Regions from separate parts of the Homo sapiens genome. Here all the other regions are linked to region 3. The links are contacts of gene promoters, found by promoter capture Hi-C in blood cells and fetal thymus (Javierre and others, 2016). All regions are on one chromosome and are shown on one strand. The core of a region is centred on a gene start or on the middle of the fragment in contact, and the rest is flanking DNA. Distances in the headings are between cores, read along the strand shown.

Region 1 (2,842 bases), core at 156-2,655, 820 kb before region 3:
AGGGTTACGTGGTCTCCCACGGGACACCCTGTTGGAGGGCGGGGAGCAGAGGTGTAACTGCAGCCCATGGTTCCGGGATCTTTATTCATAAACTCTTCATGAATCCAGAGAGGGGAGAGCTCAGATGTGTTCCTCTCCCTGCATTTCTGTCCCTTGAACTCGGATCTCCCATTTCAAGCCTGCAGATCCCCATGTCTCTGAACCAATGACTCAGTCCAGACCATGCCTTGTGACTCTGTCTCGCTTCTGCCCCCTGGTCCAGTGGCAGCCTCTCCCCCTCCTCTGTGCCTTTCCCACCTTCTCGACCTGTGGCCCTGGGGCTTCTGGCTTATCATGTCATAGCTGTTTGGCTGATGTGACCTCTGGATCATTGCTTATATTCATATTTCACTTTGGGGGTTGTTGTTTGACCTTTGACTTCAGGGTAGTTATTAGTATCCTCAATATATTTGCTAATTTCCAGAAGAAAGCCTTCAGAGTATCTGTCTTACACATCTCTGTAGGTCACACAGCTCCCAGCTCAGAAGATGCTCAACAAATATTTGTCAGTTACCAGAAGTTTCTTACTAATTAGCCAGTTAAACTAGTGGCATGTTATGGAATGAGTTTCAGTGGTTGCTATTTAAAAAGTAAACCAACACACCAAAACAAGCAAACAACAACAACAACAAATAACAACAAAAAACTATGGCAGCTGAAATATCAAATTCGGAATCCACGTAGCTTCTTTTCTTCCCAAGCAGAAGCTGCAAACTTGGTTTTCTGTTGTTCTGATGATAGCGTTGATCAGAGAGGGCCTGGAGGGAAGGTCGTTGTTTTCCTCCTATTTCAAGGTGTTGCACCTTTGGCCAAAGGGCCCACAGCACTGCTTGGAGGAACCACAGGGCTTCAGGACGTGACCGTGCACTGGGGCTGGAATCAGTGTCATTTCTCTGGAGCCAGTGGGTTTGAACTGTCTCGGAACCCTCGTTGAAGTCCACTATCTGCATGACTTTGGACAAATCTCTTCACCTCTCTGAACATAGTTCCCTATCAGCAAAATGGGGACAAATGTTTACTTCGTGGGTGTCATAGGATCCCCTGAGGTTTGGCAGTGAGTGTGTGATGCACAGCTAGAGCCTGGAGCCGAGGGTGTGCTCTGCAAGTGGCTTCACACCTAGACCAACTGACATTGCTTACAAATTCTCTTTCTGGGACTTTTGTGCCACTTAAGTTGGCACAAATACACTTAAGGCCAAAGGCAATTCAACGTAAAATATTCAACTGTTTTCAAACAGATCAGGCCACATAGCAGAGATCACTTCTTTCGTTTGACAAAAGAGGACATTCAATCGGACTGAGTTAATTTAAATAATGTTTCTTTCTGCTGGGGCTGTATTCCCCCTGCCCCTCCCGAGCAGCGAATGGGATGAGCGACCGTGAAGGCGTCACGTGGGAATCCTGATGGGACCTGTCCCATTAGTGTGTGCATGTCACTCACGGAGCGTCTACACTCTTAAAAATAACCTCATGAATTCTTTTATTTAGGGTGGAAACTCTCCACGGCTTTCTGGCTCTTTACACGTGAGGATTCTCTGCAGCAGTGCAAGGCAGCCTGAGGGTGAGGCGCCACTAATAATGATGTGTTTTCAGGGGGCGCCTAGTCCTCGCCATGATGCTGTGGGGGAGAGACAGACCACGTATTATTAACTCAATTTGACAGATGAGGAAATTTAGGTCTGAAGAGAGACTAAATGACTTTGCCTACAGTCACTGAGCCATGTCTCTCGCCCGTGCTCCACTGTTCTTTCCATTTCTCTGTCTTTCAACTCAGGAGCTGAGTGTGCTGCTGTGGGGTTACCTAGAACTCAACTCTCCTAAGCCTAATGCTCGAGCTGCCAGTGGTGTCTCAGGGCCCGGGCCTCGAAGTGCCCTCTCAACATGTTTCTTTGTCCTAGTGAAGACGGTTCCTGTGGTTTCTGCACGGACTTGTTGTTGGTGGGGTCTGGGCTGTTTTTAGAGCAGTTTATCCACAGAGAGGGGAGACCCCTAAGTGTCATCTTCCCTGGACAGTGCTCAATGTCATTTGTTTCCCCAGATGGGGAGTTAGAGGGGCCTGAAGGAGGTCGGGCTGGGGTGGGGGGCAGCGGGCGGGATGTCAAGAGAAACCTAAAGGCATGAGATCAAGTCAAACTCAACACTTCTCCTCTTGGCCTTTTCAGCGTGAGGATGGCTCACACCAAAGTACACAAGCCAACAGACTGAATCGCAGCTCTCTGTTTGAGCAGTGCCCACACAAAGCCTGCCCTCTGGAGTCCTCCTCCAGGCTCTACCCCGCCATGGTAACCGCTGAATTCGCCGGGCCATGGTAGCAGGCCAAGTATGTGCACAATTGTCCTGGAGTCTCTTCCAGTGGCAGACGGTGTTTGAATGTTGTGTACATGTTTTCTTTCTTATCCTGACATATTTATACCCTAGTTTTGTTTTATTTTGTTTTGTTTTGCTTGGTGGAGAAGCCATGGGGTTAGGAGGTGACGGAGTGGCTGGGAGAGCCTTTGTATCAGATTGGTTAAGAAGGCCGATCTACGGTTCCCAACATTCTACCACCAAGGGCTAGGAGAGTCATCTCCCTCCCGGAAACACACGTCAATGGGCTTGGACGCAATTTCAAGGCTGCATGCCAACGTGATCACGTGGCATTTTGATTCAGCTATTAAGGAAGAAGTAAGTATAAAGACTTCAGATACCTTAGGCAACAGTTCCATAAAGGAGGCAGTAAAACACGTAATTAGGCAAATCAAATAAGGCACGGCAACAGCTTTCAAATATTTAGTCACATATCATTTCCCATTAATTTACTGTG
Region 2 (2,700 bases), core at 117-2,616, 1.0 Mb before region 3:
CGCGTGCCACCACGCCCAACTAATTTTTGTATTTTTAGTAGAGACGGGGTTTCACCATGTTGGTCAGGCTGGTCTCAAACTCCTGACCTCGTGATCCACCCACCTCAGCCTCCCAAAGTGGTGGGATTACAGGCGTGAGCCACCGCGCCCGGCCAGCATTTTATTATACGTACCGTTTTATCATCTCTTCACCCATCCACCAATGCATCTCCTGTATGGACGTCTTGATTGTTAACTCACGGCACTGGACCTCCAGTTTCATGCCTCTCCACATTGCAGGGTCCTCTACGTTGTTGTATCAGTCACCTTTCTAAAATACAAATCTTACCATGTAAATTGTTTCTAAAATCTTTCAATAGACCCCATAGACTCAGAAAAACGTCCCAAAGTCCGGAATCCTGGCCCCTGCCTACCTTTCCAGTTTCATTGCTGGGTCAGAACGCCTCACCTAAGCCCCACATTGACCGATATGGAATCAATGTTTACAGCCGGTGTGTACTTAATCAACCCCCTTCCCCGACTGCGACCACTCAGATGCGCCTTCCCGGGCCCCACACCCCAAAACCCCTGAGCCCTTTCGTCCACAGCTGTCTGACCACCCAGCACCCTTTCCTTTATGTCAAGTATGAGGATTTCGTTTCTTAACCTTTCTCACTGCTCAAAATGCAAACTCAGACATGAGTGCCGGGCGCTATCCGTCCTGCTCACGTCTTGTTCTCAGGGCCGCAAGGCGCAGGGGCAGTAAGGGCCGAGAGCCCATCAGGGTCCGGCGCTGCCCGCTGCCCAGCCGGGCGCGGAGAAGGGGACGGGGGTCCGGGGTCGCGGGTCCGGAGGGTCTCGGGTTGTAGGAAGTGAGGGCTCGCGGGCGCCGCACGAGTGCGCGTGCACGTTAGCCCGGCGCGCGCGGCACTCATCTCACCTCGCGGAAGCACCTGCCGGAGCTGTGTGCACCCTTTCCTGCCCTCAACACAAGCCGTCGGCGTTCACTACTGTAGCTCATTCAGACCCCACTCTCCAACCTACTGTCCAGGCACAGAAACGACAGTTAAGGTTCCCCCGGACCGTACGCTGGACCTTGCCTCCCCGGCTCCTAACGGGAGACGGGCTGCCGTAAAGCTTCGCTTTGCCGACTGCTGCAAAGCGCCTTACGACTGAACCCGGAATCGACCTATGGCCAGCAGTCGTCCCCGCCCTGCTTCAAACATTTGGGTTTCAGGAGCCGGGCGGAGGTGACTGCCGCGTGTTTGCGTTGCACGCCCACCGCCCGAAACACGGCGGCGGCCTCAGGGCTGCTGCGGCCTCGGCGGGGGCAGGCCCCGGCGCCCGCCCGCCTCCCGGCCTCCATCATCCCAGGGTGCACCGCGGCGGGCGCGGGCGCGCGGCCATGTTGCGGTAGTTTGTTGTTTTCTTCCTGCGGAGGCGAAGGGCCAGCTGTGGACCGCGAAGCGCCCGGCTTCGCCTCTGCCTCCTGCAGCCCCCTCCCTTCTCTGTCCTCCGTCACCCGTACCCGGGCCCGGACCAGGCACGTCGGCCCACCAGCTGGCTTGGTGGGGGAGGCTGAAGGCCGGGCCCCGCGAGTGCCATGGCGGCCGCCCTGGGAGCGAGCGGAGGAGCAGGCGCCGGAGGTACGTGAGGCAGCCGGACTCTGGGGGCCAGGACCGCGCCGCGGTGGGCGGGGGTGTAGGCCGGGGGGCCTCCCCGCTTAGGAGAGGACGAGGCTCTCCCCGGCTCCGACTCTCTTTGTGTTCGGCCTATTCCGTTTTCTCCCTCGCCTTCCCTCGCTATTGTCATTCTCCCTTTCTCGCTCCTCCTCTCCGCTGTGCAGATCGTACTTACCTGTGAACTTCTGTGTGTCCTCTACTTTGCAAGGCTGCCTAAGTGTCAGGCCCATCTCTGGCGTTGGCGGGCATTAAGTGCCGAAGCCGGCCTGGTGTCCTATGGGTAGGAGAGCGCCCCCCCCACCCCCCGAGACAGTGTCACTTAGGGAGAGCGGGGCAGGTCGCTGTAGGGTGGGTGTTTAAGATTGTGGGGCCATCCTGACAGATTTAGATTGATTTGAAGCCCATTACAAAAACATAACGAAAAGATTCACCTGTGTGAAGGAATGTGCGACAGTAGGCCAGTTTGGAAAGTGAGATTTCTTGAGAAAGTCTCAATAAATCCCTGTTTTAAATTAACTTATTTGTTGTCTAATAACCTGTTAGTGTTTTATGTGCGTCTTCCAAAAGTGAAAACGTGACACAAAAGGTTTAGATACTGAGTCAGTTCCTTTGGATAGTTTTTCTTGTTTGCAAGCATAAACAGTATTGATGAAACACCTATCTCTAAAAAATTGTAGGTAAATTACTTTCAGGTAAAATTACATATCACTGGGGGTTTTAAAAACGTGGAGAGATACTTGAAAGTGACTTTTTAAGTGATTATTTTGAAAACTTTGAAAAGATGGTAAAATATGGATAACAAAAGCATTTGGGATTAGTTCTTACCATTGAAACGTTGAAAAGCCAGTCTAGTGTATACTCGAGAAGTATTTTTTAGTAAATGCTAGCAGATGGTTACGTTGTTATCATCCTGTTTAGGAATTTTGGCCCAACTGTCAAAACGTTTGCCTGACAAAATGGAAAAACAAAAAAGACTAAGTGTAGGAATGTCGCTTCTGGCAATTTGGTTTGCTATATGCCACTTTTCTTTCAGTTTAAA
Region 3 (2,700 bases), core at 157-2,656:
TTCGGCCAAATTTCTTCTAATTAAAGTACAACATAAGTTGAACCAACACAATAATTGTCATATTAAGAAAAGATAAAACAAACTTTACTCATTTCTGCTTCTGGGCATGGAGTGTGAGGGACCAGACTTAAGTTCTCAAACAACTACAAAATCAGACCAAAAAATACAATGGTTTCCAGGCACCGGACGACAGGCAGTGCAGGGCTGTGATCCTTAAGAGAAGGGAAGCAGCGAGCCAGAGTATCCAGGCCACAACCCAAATGGAGGCCAAGAGAGGAACAGCAGAGGATACAGAGGGAGGGTTCCAGGGGCCAAGACGCAATCCGAGGGGAAGCCCTTCCGGGGAGAGCTGGAGTCCTGGGGTGGCCTTCTCGAGTCTTCCCGAGCAGGTCTGTGCAGCGAGGAAACATCCGAGGCTGGAGTGAGCCACGCGGAGGAGGAAGAACAGCCCGAGCTCACAGGGGCGGGGAAGAGTTCTAGCTCGCGACAGCCCCTGGGAGGAACCCTGCACTATTTGTGGCGTCGAGTAAAGCACCGGAAGGCTCTGCTCAGGAGCGTGAACGACACCGCCCGCTGCAAGCCTGGAAAGGAACGCGTTGCCTCAATTCACTCCGATGTGTCACACACGCGGCTCAGTCACCTAGGGAGCAGGAAAAGGCCAGCGGGCCACGCAGGGCTCACCCGGGCCTGCATCCAAACGCAAACGGCCAGGCCCACGAAGCAGGAAACACAACCCGCAACGAGAAGCAAAGGGATCCACAGAGAAGGGCCAGGAGTCACGGACGACGCCAGGCAGTCGGCGCCTGCGCTTCCGCGAGCCAAGACGCCTGAGCGGCGCGGGGGGATCGGGGGATCCCCCAGAAAACTGCCCTCGACTAACAGCGCAGCGAAGGGGCGGTGCGCTCGAGACCCTGGAACGGGAACGACCACAGCCACCGCAGGGAAACAACCGGGGCCCAGGCCCAGGTGGGCGGGCGGCTGAGGAGCGTGGCTGCGCCCACAAAGCCGCCGGGGGCTGCGGACTACAGCGAAGCCGGCGCGGGGCTCGGCCCTCACTACACGAGGCCTGGGCGCCTGCACGCCCCCGTGCTTCAGCCCGCGGCTCCCGAACACCCCCGCCAGGCGATCCCCAAAAACGCCCGCTGCGCGAGCCTCGACGGGAACGCACCTGCGTCTAGACGCTGACGCCGTGCGCGGGGCGGGGGCCGGCGAGCATGCGCAGTGTGGTGTGGACAGGGCGTGGTTGGCAAGCATGCGCAATGTGGGCCGGGCGGGGCTGGCGAGCATGCGCAGTATGGGGCGGGGCGGGGCAGGGCTGGTGAGCAAGCCCGCGGGGAGCGAGCGCGGAGGCGGGCGTTGCTACGGCAACGGTGGGCGGCCAGGGAGTTGCCTGAGGGAAAAGGGGCAGACGTCCCTGGGTTCCGGTGTTCGCGGAGGAGTCGAGGCACGGAGAGGCTTCGGGGGAGGGACGGAAAGAAGGGTGGCCCGCCAGGCGGGCGGGGTCCATGGATTCGGGGTGAGGGCCGTCCGCGGCCTCGCTTTCGCCTCCTCCGAGCCGGGCCGGCGATGGCCGCAGCTGTGAGGCGAGGTCGGGTCCCGTAGCGGCGCGCAGCCTCCTTGGGGGACTCGGGGTCCTGGTTAGTTTCCACAGCTCCTTCTATCTGAGGGGTACGAATTTACGGCTGCCTAAAGCCTTAGAACAGTGATCCCACGTCGGTAATTTTAGAACCCGGTAGGACCGGCTGCCATCAGGGGCCCCAGGTGCAGGGTGGTGTCAGCTTTGAGAGGAATTGGAGCCTCGTCACCGCGCGCTTCCTGCATGAGTGGAACCTCAGAAAACGGTCAGCGGGGTTCAGAAGGCAGGAGATAACACCAAGACCCTACGTAGGATTGCATCTTTACGTCGTAGGCTTGGTCTCGTGTATTTTTATTGAGCGTGTTTAATTAGCTGAGGTTACTCGCTTTGGCACCCCAGTGATCGTTTTTGCCACCAAGCTCTGCCTCTTGAGCGTTTAATACTGGGATTTACAAAGCAACGGGTTCCTGTTAATCTTAGCTTTCAATACTGGGCAAGGGTTACGTTTCTAACCCTACCAGTGCCGCAGGCTCATTATATATTGAAGGACTCACCTGGTATTTGGTTTTCTCATTTATAAAGTGGAGTTGGAGTAGGTACTTGAAGGGTTTTCAATACCTTTAAATTCTGAATTTTAAACTCTAAAACTTAATGATACCGTAGGACTTTAAGAGAGTATAGGTTTTAAAAGCTCTTACCTTGATATTAATGACAGTGGTCTACTGTGTAGAAACTTGAGATTAAATTGCAGACTGCAGCTATGACCGGACCATTTTTAGTGTGATGCAAACTGTATCTTCTGCAGGTTATAGGCATTTTGGAAGCAGGAACTGAGAAAATTCTGGCAGTGATCTTTCAGTATTTTAAATTCCACCATTTCTCCAAGTTCAGTTGTCTTGATGAGATACAGGGTGGAACTTATTTCAAACATCTCTTGATGCCAGAATTGAACGGGAACAGAAAAGGGCTGTAGTAAGAACCATCATCAAAGCCTCCAGGACTTGAGCAGCGACTGACGTTTTTACTTCTAACCCTGGATATCTCAGAGATTTGGTTCCACTGTGCTTTTCTATCTCTCCACTCACGCCTTAGTGAGTTTGTTCTTTCGGTTGGAGTAATTTAAT

Evidence for each region. Contacts are between HindIII fragments. The CHiCAGO score rates a contact against its expected background, and 5 or more counts as called.
Region 1: a contact is called between a fragment that was not itself captured here and the fragment with the promoter of RNF32 in region 3, in 2 of 17 cell types (M1 macrophages and endothelial precursors). The highest score is 5.5, in M1 macrophages.
Region 2: a contact is called between the fragment with the promoter of RBM33 here and the fragment with the promoter of RNF32 in region 3, in 10 of 17 cell types (total B cells, total CD4 T cells, fetal thymus and 7 more). The highest score is 9.9, in total B cells.

The regions. Positions count from the first base shown.
Region 1 is chr7:155,822,081-155,824,922 of GRCh38, forward strand. No RefSeq gene overlaps it. Among named protein-coding and RNA genes, the nearest start is that of SHH, 11 kb to the left of the region's middle. The HindIII fragment of the contact is 7,243 bases long and covers 1-2,842 here.
Region 2 is chr7:155,643,295-155,645,994 of GRCh38, forward strand. It overlaps RBM33 (RNA binding motif protein 33), which reads left to right and starts at 1,367. Exons shown (of 18, transcript NM_053043.3): 1 at 1,367-1,625. The coding sequence starts at 1,583. It overlaps RBM33-DT (RBM33 divergent transcript), which reads right to left and starts at 1,112. Exons shown (of 3, transcript NR_126344.1): 1 at 920-1,112; 2 at 174-310. RefSeq lists an enhancer at 306-1,260 and a silencer at 1,185-1,694. The HindIII fragment of the contact is 4,649 bases long and covers 1,115-2,700 here.
Region 3 is chr7:156,639,368-156,642,067 of GRCh38, forward strand. It overlaps RNF32 (ring finger protein 32), which reads left to right and starts at 1,407. Exons shown (of 9, transcript NM_030936.4): 1 at 1,407-1,444. RNF32-DT (RNF32 divergent transcript) reads right to left here and starts at 1,168. Exons shown (of 4, transcript NR_026865.2): 1 at 1-1,168. RefSeq lists an enhancer at 838-1,429 and a silencer at 998-1,307. The HindIII fragment of the contact is 15,348 bases long and covers 1-2,700 here.